Linked DNA regions of Homo sapiens: region 2 is linked to region 1. Evidence: promoter capture Hi-C in 16 types of primary human blood cells and fetal thymus (Javierre and others, 2016). All regions are on one chromosome and are shown on one strand. Each heading gives the region's core, a stretch centred on a gene start or on the middle of the fragment in contact. The rest is flanking DNA. Distances are from core to core; before and after follow the strand shown.

Region 1 (4,700 bases), core at 984-3,483:
GGGACTGTGAGCTGTACCTGCTCCACTGGACGACCAAACAGTGAGCTGGCTTTAGGCTCCTGGCACTGCTAGCTTCTTCCAGTGATCTCAGAAACATATGCTATGCCCTGATGCAGAAGTCCCTTCCCCACTCCCCCTACTGCTAAAGACCTTCAAAGGGAAGGGGATTTGCTGTGGTCTGTCAGCCCCCTGCCCACTCCCCACTTCCCAACCCAAAGTGAAAAGTGGATTTGAAGTTCCTATATTTTATATTTATTATTTATTTTAGAGATAGGGTCTCGCTCTGTCACCCAGGCTGGAGTGCAGTGGTCAATCATAGCTCACTACAGCCTCCAACTCCTGGGCTCAAGCGATCCTCTGGCCTCAGCCTCTGTAGTAGCTAGGACAACATTTTGTTGTTGTTTTGTTTGTTTCTTTGTAGAGATGGAGTCTCACTATGTTGCCCAGGCTGGTCTTGAACTCCTGGCCTCAAGCAATTCTCCTGCCTTGGCTCCCCAAAATGCTGGCATTACAGGTGTGAACCTTGGTACCCGGGCCAGAAGTGCCTATAAACAGTATCCTGGCTTCCAATTTGACCCAACAATCCAGCAATAAAGAGTGCAAAAAAGGGCTACCTGCGCCTTCAGGCCGGCCTCAGGGCCCACCCTGAACAAATCCAGCAGACACTTACACCCTCATTTGAAAGAACTCCAAAATTGTCAGGAATTGTCCTGGTAGACCATTGTGACAGAGACAAAGGAGAACAGCATGGACTACAAAAGACCCAGCAAGGGAAAGAGGATGAGTCGGGAATGGCAACAAGAGCCCCTGCGAGCTTTTCCTTGGCTCATTTCTAATAGAAAAGGAAGCATTTCTCCCTTCTCTGCCTGGTTGCTATTTCTTGTCCAATCTGGGAAAACGGTGTGACAATGGGCAACAGACACGTGTTCAAGCTCTGGGGCCTCAATGCCGGGCTCTGTAGAATAAGACGGCAGGGCTGGACAAGATCCCTAACCGTTCTAACAGTGTATGTTTTGGATCAAACAGCAGAGGACCTCGGATCTGGCCGCGCTCGCTGCTGGTGGGACAGCTGCCTGAGAAAATAAGCATGTGGCCCCCGCCCGCCACCTAGCCAAGCGCCAGGATCTGTCGCGTTTTCTAGTAGTATGGAAAGCAGCGTGGAGGAGAATGAAGGGAGAGGAGCAAAAAGGGGTGGGGGCAGTGCGACAATGAGAGGGGAGGAGAGAGCCACGAGGATTTATTTCATCATGCAAACAGGCGCGTAGGTTTCATCAGCGTCTGTGCGCTGGGGCTCCGGGGCTGGGAGGGAATGCCAGGTTCCTGAGGGCAGCCCGAGGCTGGCCCCCCCACCCGTGCCAGCTCAGCTTCCTCTTCCTCATCCTCTCCCAGGGAGGTCACACGGTGCCTCCTCCTCTCCCCGGACAGAAGAACGTGTTTTTCTGCACAGCCCTGGCCGTGGCGCCAGGGTCCCCCCCGCGGAGATCCCACTCGCGTAAATGGGGAACGTGCCACAGGTGCCCGGGAGGCGCTGCTGGAGCAGGCAAGCACCCCCAGATCCGAACCTCAGTCAGAGCGCGCGAGTCCAACACAAAACTCGGCGTGCTTCGGGAAGGAAAAAGGGCCCTGCAGGAATCGTTTATCCCAACAGATAATACCCATCCCATAAAAACACCAGGCCAGGCCTCTCCTGGATCGTGGGCCACCCTAACTCCGCCCTCTCCCGCTTCGGGAGCGCCCCCAACACCCACAAGGGGCAGCACAGCTCGGCATGTGGCTGTCCTGGAGGCGTGCGTGTTTGTTAGGTGTCAGCTGTCTGACACCTAACAGAAAGAGGAAACAAACGGGGCAGTTTGTAACTCGGGTCTGGAAGACGCACTCAGAGGGGAAGCGGGCGGCCACTTCCATGACCCTCGCTGTCTCTCCGATGCCCCTTTTCCGTTCTTTCCAATCACGGCGCCCTTGAGCCTGGACACCCGGTCCAATCCGCGATTCCCGATCCTCCCGCCCGCCCAGGAGCCGGCAAGCGGCGTCGCCAAGCCCGCGCCTACCTCCCGGGGTGGTGCTGAAGAGCGTGCCGCCGGGGGTCGTGCTGTAGTCCCCGGGCGGGAGCTGCACGCCGTCGCCGAGCACCACCCGGCGAGTGGCGGGGATGGCCCGGCTTGGGGTCTGGCTGCAGCTGCTGCCCCCGGACATGGTCTCCTGTGCGCTGCACCCGCGAACCTCTCGCTGCCCTCCCGCGCCTCCAGCCTCGCTCCGCCTCGCCCCGTGCCGCCCCGCCCCAGGACGCCCCTTCCGCCTCTCCCGCCCCACGCCCCTGGGATTTGTAGTCCGCGCCGCAGCCCCACCCAGCTCCAGGACGCTGCTTCCACGTGGGATCCCCCGCCGCCCCCCGACCCACTCCCGTCTGCTCACGGGCTCTTCCGCACGGGCGCTGGCGCCGCCCCGCAGCGACTGCCCCTCCGTCCGGGGTCCCTCCCCGCCACGCTGGCAGGGACGGATATGGGGATGGCGGGCGGGATAGCTCGCCTAAATTAATCCTTGGCTGGGTTGGGGGCGGCGACTCAGGACCGCGCGGAGATCCGAGCTGACCCGGCCCACTGCAGGAAGGCCCGGTTTCTGCATTAGGACATCAGGCCTGGTGTACCCTTCGGCACTCCCTGTTTCGTGCCTTAGTTCCTCAGATGAGAAAATGGGGATTGAGTAGTTATGCTCACCGCCCCCCGCCCCGCTTCAATTTCTTGACCTTGATGGGGGTGGGGGTGGAGGGGCTAACAATTCCGTTCCCGGCCTTTAGAGAGGGTGTGGGAGGAGGAGTGAACCAACCAGCGGCGTCCTGGGAGCTAAATTTAGAGCTGGGGGCGCAGAGGTGGGTGGTGGGGAAGGGCGTTGGAGAGGAGTAAGAGTGTCGAAGAGGTTTCCCGATAGCCCCTGAATTGAGTCCAACGTCCACCTGAGGTTTAGTAGGTACTCCTTGGATGGATGGATGGATGGATGGATGGATGGATGGATGGATGGATGTTCAAGGGGAGAGAGAAAAATGCAAGAAGGACCGAGGATGGAAAAGCTTGTTGGGTTTGAGAAGTTCTTAGCATTATGGGCACATATTGTGGGGAAGAGGGTGAAGAGGGGAGGGCAGTTTAAAAGGGAAATTGGGTGGTGCACCTGTAATCCCAGCTACTCAGGAAGCTGAGGCTGGAGGATGCTTGAGCCCAGGGGTTTGAGGCTCCAGTGAGCTGTGATCACACCACTGCACTCCACCCTTTGTGACAGAGACCCTATCTCTAAAAAAATATATAATAATTTTTTAAAAAGGAAATTGGGGTCAGGTCGTTGAGTTTTTCAAATTATGCCAAAGTGCTTGGACTTTGTCTTAGAAGGGCAGGAGATATCAGAGATCTTTTAAGCAGGGGGATGACATGATTTGAGTTGTTTTTTGGAAGGATAACTAGTAGCCAGTGGAGTTTCAGAATGGGCCAAGGAGGGCAAGGCCTGAGATAGGGAGACCTGTTGAGTTTGGTCTCACTTTTGAGGGAAACTTTAGGCCTACAGTGGCTAAGACAGTAGCCACCAGCTACAGGTGCACATTGAGCACTCCAAATGTGACCAGTCCAAACTGTCACAAGTTTAACATACACACCATATTTCAAAGACTTAGTGTGAAGAAAATCATGTAAAATACCTGAATAATTTGTTTCTATATTGATTGTATGTTGAACTGATAATATTTTGAGTATACTGGGTTAAGAAAAATACATTATAAAAATTAATTTTGGGCCAGGCGCAGTGGCTCACGCCTGTAATCCCAACACGTTGGGAGGCCGAGGCAGGCGGATCATGAGGTCAAGAGATCGAGACCATCCTGGACAACATGGTGAAACCCTGTCTCTACTAAAAATATAAAAAAAATTAGCTGGGCATGGTGGCGCATGCCTGTAGTCCCAGCTACTCGGGAGGCTGAGGCAGGAGAATTGCTTGAACCTGGGAGGCAGAGGTTGCAGTGAGCTGAAATCATGCCACTGCACTCCAGCCTGGCGTCAGAGCAAGACTCTGTCTCAAAAGAAAAAAAAATAAATTTCGGCTGGGTGCAGTGGCTCACGCCTGTAATCCCACCACTTTGGGAGGCCTAGGCGGGTGGATCATGAGGTCAGGAGTTCAAGACCAGCCTGGCCAAGATGGTGAAACCCTGTCTCTACTAAAAATACAAAAAAACAAAACAAACAAACAAACAAACAAAAACAACAGACCGGGCACAGTGGCGGGTGCCTGTAATCCCAGCTACTCGGGAGGCTGAGGTGGAGAATTGCTTGAACCTGGGAGGCAGAGGTTGTAGTGAGTAGAGATCTGCCACTGCACTCCAGCCTGGGTGACAGAGTGAGACTCCGTCTCAAAAAAAAAAAAAAAAAAAAATTAATTTCATCCAGGTGCTGTGGATCACACCTGTAATACCAGCACATTTGGAGACCGAGGTGAGCAGACTGCTTGGGCTCAGGAGTTTGAGACAAGCCTGGGCAACATGGTGAAACTCTGTCTCTACAAAAAAATTTAAAAATTAGCCCAGTGTTGTGGCTCACACCTGTGGTCCCAGCTACTTTCAAGGATGAGGTAGGAAGATGACCTGAGCCCCAGAGGTGGAGGTTGCCATGAGCCAAGATTGCACCACTGCACTCCAGCCAGGGCTCAAAAAATAAATAAATAATATA
Region 2 (4,700 bases), core at 2,132-4,631, 140 kb before region 1:
CAGTCTGGTCTCCAACTCCTGACCTCAGGTGATCCACCCACCTCGGCCTCCCAGAGTACTGGGATTACAGGCGTGAGCCACCGCCTCCGGCCGACAGATCATTTTTTTAAACACAAATTACTTATTGTGCTATGTAAGGGAAATGTAGTGTAATTGGACTAAATATATATTAACATCTATATGAACCTGTTACGTGTAACAGGATGTTTTAGTTGCTCGAGGATGCTCTTTTGCCCTCATCTCTCCTTATATATCCTCTAACACATCCTGCCATTTTACTAAAAATCAGTTTTGCTCTTTGGTCCTCTAACCCCTACCTCTTTGTAGATTCCAGACCCCCTACTTTATGAAAACTTTGAAGCCATTTGATATGCACCCTTTGCTCCCCAACCCTAACACACAGTTTCCTCCTTGTGTTTCTGTATTTTCACCCATCCTTTAATTTGAGTAGGAAGGATTCCTCCCTTTTTGTCTGTCTGTTGTTACTGTCTCCTCTCACTGCTTCTGGAACCTTTTTTCGTTGTTAGCCTTTTTCTTTTATATCCTCTGTCTCCCCAACCCCTGCGTTCTTCCCCTCATGTGTTACTGTCTATCCATCTCAAATATTTTCTCCGTTCTCTTCATATGCCCATCCCTTTTTTCATATCTTTATCCCCAAACCTCGAGTCATTTTCATTTTGTCTGTTTCTTGATCACCTTCAATAGACTACTTACATTACTCCTGCAATCTAATTTTTATCCTGAAATTACTCAAGCTGCATTCTTCAAAGTTATTCGTCTAAGGTCTTCTTCTGTGTTCTCTCCCCTTTGCAGCACTGTGATACTCTCCCCACCAGATTCTTTAATTCTCTTCTCTTGATTTCTCTAACAACTGGTACTTGGTGATTTTCTTACTTCTCTGGCTCTTACTGTTCTCCAAAATAGATGGTCACTTGGATTACATGTGGCCTACTTCTTTAAATCTTTAGTAGATCTCCTGTACTTTAGTTTTTTATATCACCTCTTTGTAGATTTATCCAAAATTGCTTTCTCTAATCTTGATGTCTTTGGTTTTCCAGTCTTACTGTTTCCAACTATCTGCGTGTGTTTCTATTAAGTGTCCTGATAGCACTTTAGAATCACAAAGAGCTAATAACCTTCACCCTGAGCTTGCTGCTTTTATTCCCAACTCTTGGTAAATAGTTTTGTGATGTCTCATAAAACTCCTACATCTTTACCTCACATCTTCAGCACCCCACCCTCTCACACATACCCACTTATACAAACTCAGTAAACAGACTCCATCACTTAATGTTTTCTTGTTCCCTATGAAGTCAAATCCAGATGCAGCCTGCGCCCAGTACTTTTCTGACTTTATCTACTGTTCTTTCCCTTCACACCCTCAGCTTTTAGCTAAACATGGATGTATAGCCCTTTTTTCCTCCTCTTTAATTTACAGATTTCCTTCTCCCCCCCCGCCCCCTTCCTATCACTCTTCTTGTGCCCTAAAATTATCTACCTTTTAAGGTCCAACTCTGATACCTCCTTCAGAAATACAGTTTCTCTCTCTGTAGTCTCATATAATTAAGATTTGCTTTCTGTGGTACTTATTTATAGCGCAAGGAAGAGTATAAATTCCTTCAGGGCAGAGTCACTGTGTTTTTCCTCTGTTCTGCATCTAGAAAGTACTTTAGGCATGGAATGAAAGAAATTTTGCTGGGTGCGCTAGTAACTGGCTTATTTTCATTCTTCAGTGTCAGCTCAAAGTCACCTCTTCAGAGAGGCTTTCCCTTGCCACCCTTCCTTCTGTAACCACTTCTCTCCCTTCATCATACTGCCTTGCTAGTTTATTATTCCATTGTCCTAATCACAATAGGTTATTTTCTTATTTATTTGTCCTCCTCCAACATGAATATAAATTCATAAGGTTGGTGACTTTCTAAGTCTCATTCTCTACTGTATGTCTAGACCCCAGAACAGCACATGCCCCCTCAGTAAACATTGAATTTCTGCTCTAGCTTATTATTAGTCTTCATTTTAAATGCCTGAAGCATTGTGTTTTTATTTAAAGCCTTCTATGGTTACAAACAAAATGTGAGATAGAAGCTCATCTTTTGAGGACAAAATAATTCTACAAATAAGATAATAGTCATCTAGATTAAATTTGTCAATTTACAGATATAAAAACTGACATGACATGAGATGGTTTAAGTGTCAAACATAAGGGTCTTTGGCTAGGCGCCATGGTTCACGCCTGTAATCCCAGCACTTTGGGAGGTGGAGGTGGATGGATCATCTGAAGTCAGGAGTTTGAGACCAGCCTAGCTAACATGGTGATACACCATCTCTACTAAAAATATGAAAATTAGCCAGGCATGGTGGCAAACTCCTGTAGTCCCAGCTACTAAGGAGGCCGATGCAGGAGGATCGCTTGAACCTGGGAGGCAGAGGTTGTAGTAAGCCGAGATTGTGCCACTGCACTGCAGCCTGGGTGACAGAGTGAGACTCTGTCTCAAAAAAAAAAAAAAAGAAAAAAGGAAAAAAAAAAAACCAACATAAGGGTCTAGAGCCAGCTAGTCAGGCTTCCTGGTGCCACGCCCTGTCCTTTTCCCACTCTGCCACACTGCTCTGATTCTTTTCACTACTGATGTTATCTAAATCCGCGTTGCTGTGCTGCTTTTTTCAGTTTTCCAATGAACTTGAACTTCACATTAAATGCATTGGCCGAGGAAGTGGTACAGCTTAAACTGTTAATTATTATCCTAAATACTCGCTGAACTTGTCAGTTTTCATTTAAAAGATTTTTTCCTCTCTCCCCAGAAAAGCACTTGGTTCTGCTTCGAGATGGAAGGACACTTATAGGCTTTTTAAGAAGCATTGATCAATTTGGTATGTATTAATTTATGGACATCTCTTATACTCTGGATAATAACAGCAGCCCATTGCATTTTTTGTTATTTAATATTGAAATTTATCTGCAACTTTTTCACGTGTGTGACCTAGTAGGACTGATTTTAGTGAGTACATCATTGTTTTCTATACATTCAGATTAGGTGGTTCAAAGCTTATATATATTTCCAAGCTCGTTTCTAAAACTGGCTTTCAGTAGAATCCCCAGTAGGGGGAGCCAAATGATAGAAATAAACTCAGTCCACCGAAGAGGCTTGTTTTGTTTTGTTTTGTTTTTTGTTTAGACGCGCTCTCGGTCACCCAGGCTGGAGTGCAGTGGCACAATCTTGGCTCACTGCAACCTCCGCCTCTTGGGTTCAAGTGATTCTTGTGCCTCAGCCTCCCAAGTAGCTGAGATTATAGGCTCCAGCCACCACCCCCAGCTAATTTTTGTATTTTTAGTAGAGACGGGGTTTCGCCATGTTGGCCAGGCTGGTTTCAAACTCCTGACCTTAGGTGATCCACCCACCCAGCTGAGCTGGGCAGTTGTTCTGCTCCTCATGGTTTTAGGACAGTCCCTTGGTGTCTAGAAGGTGAGTCAGCTGGTTTGAAGGAGCTTCACTCACATGTCTGGTGCATCAGTGGGGACAGCTGGAAGGCTGGTCTTAGCTCCCATAGTGCTGAGATTATAGGCGCGAGCCATTGTGCCCGGCCCAAGGCTGCTTATTTCTACATTGGCAGGGTAAAATGACTTCAAAGCAGTTCCGGAAGTGAAGGTAATCCCTCCCTAGCCAATGAAAATTGGGTAGAAGGCATTTCCTTTATTTTAAGGACCCCAACATTAAGCTTAATACTTTACATATAGGGATACATTGGAATAAGAGGCCTCTGTCTTTGTTTCGCATCCTGCATTTTTCTTAAGTTAAAAGATTATGTTTCCTTCTGTTTCAAGGAACTTCATGTTCATGCTAACATTTATTGGATATCTGCGAAATCACTGGATTTGAGCATGAGGAAGAAACGTAATTAAAACACTTAAAAGGATTATGGAAGATATGAACATAGATTTCTCCTTTACTTCAAATAGGACAAGTAGTACTAATTGAAAGAGGAAAAATAATTATTGTTAACAAATTGGAGTCCTGATTCTTAAGTCAGATTCATCAGAGTACTTTGAGGGAAGGGTAGTGGCTATTAAGTTGACTTTTAGATTACAAATATAGTTATCTGTCAAGGTGAAAAAATAGGTTTTTGCTGTATCATAACCCATGGATACCTGCGTTGGGTCAAATGAATCCTAATTACTAAAAGAAAGTTGAATCTTCAGCAGATCATCACATACACACCCACACAAAAAGAAAAGCTGTTTCTTTCCAGAAAACAAAAGTTTTGATCTCTGTGGTTGTTTAGGCCCAAGTTTTCCAAGTTCCTTATTCATTTATATTTTCCTATGGTTTTTTTTGGTATTAGCAATTAACTGATAAAGGAATTTATTTCTCTTATTTCTGCTGTCATTCATGTATTAGCCCAACATAATCCCAGACATCTCCTAACTGGTACGTCTTACTCAATGAAATAGGAGAAGATTATTTGAAATTTTAGCCTTCCCCAGAATTAGAAAGCTTGGGGGCCCGGCACTGTGGCTCACGCCTGTAATCCCAGCACTTTGGAAGGCCGAGGTGGGCGGATCACAAGGCCAGGAGTTCAAGACCAGCCTGGCCAATGTGGTGATCCCTGTCTCTGCTAAAAATACAGAATTAGCCGGGAGTGGTGGCAGGCACCTGTAGTCCCAGCTACTCCGGAATCTGAGGCAGGAGAATTGCTTGAACCAG

The links. Contacts are between HindIII fragments. The CHiCAGO score rates a contact against its expected background, and 5 or more counts as called.
Region 2: a contact is called between a fragment that was not itself captured here and the fragment with the promoter of EIF4EBP1 in region 1, in 2 of 17 cell types (erythroblasts and megakaryocytes). The highest score is 6.9, in erythroblasts.

Annotation. Positions count from the first base shown.
Region 1 is chr8:38,028,067-38,032,766 of GRCh38, reverse strand. EIF4EBP1 (eukaryotic translation initiation factor 4E binding protein 1) reads right to left here and starts at 2,233. Exons shown (of 3, transcript NM_004095.4): 1 at 2,049-2,233. The coding sequence starts at 2,193. RefSeq lists enhancers at 1,413-1,512, 2,142-2,436 and a silencer at 2,013-2,452. The HindIII fragment of the contact is 5,036 bases long and covers 1-3,066 here.
Region 2 is chr8:38,170,133-38,174,832 of GRCh38, reverse strand. LSM1 (LSM1 homolog, mRNA degradation associated) reads left to right here. Exons shown (of 4, transcript NM_014462.3): 2 at 2,800-2,868. Among named protein-coding and RNA genes, the nearest start is that of LSM1, 4.0 kb to the left of the region's middle. The HindIII fragment of the contact is 671 bases long and covers 3,046-3,716 here.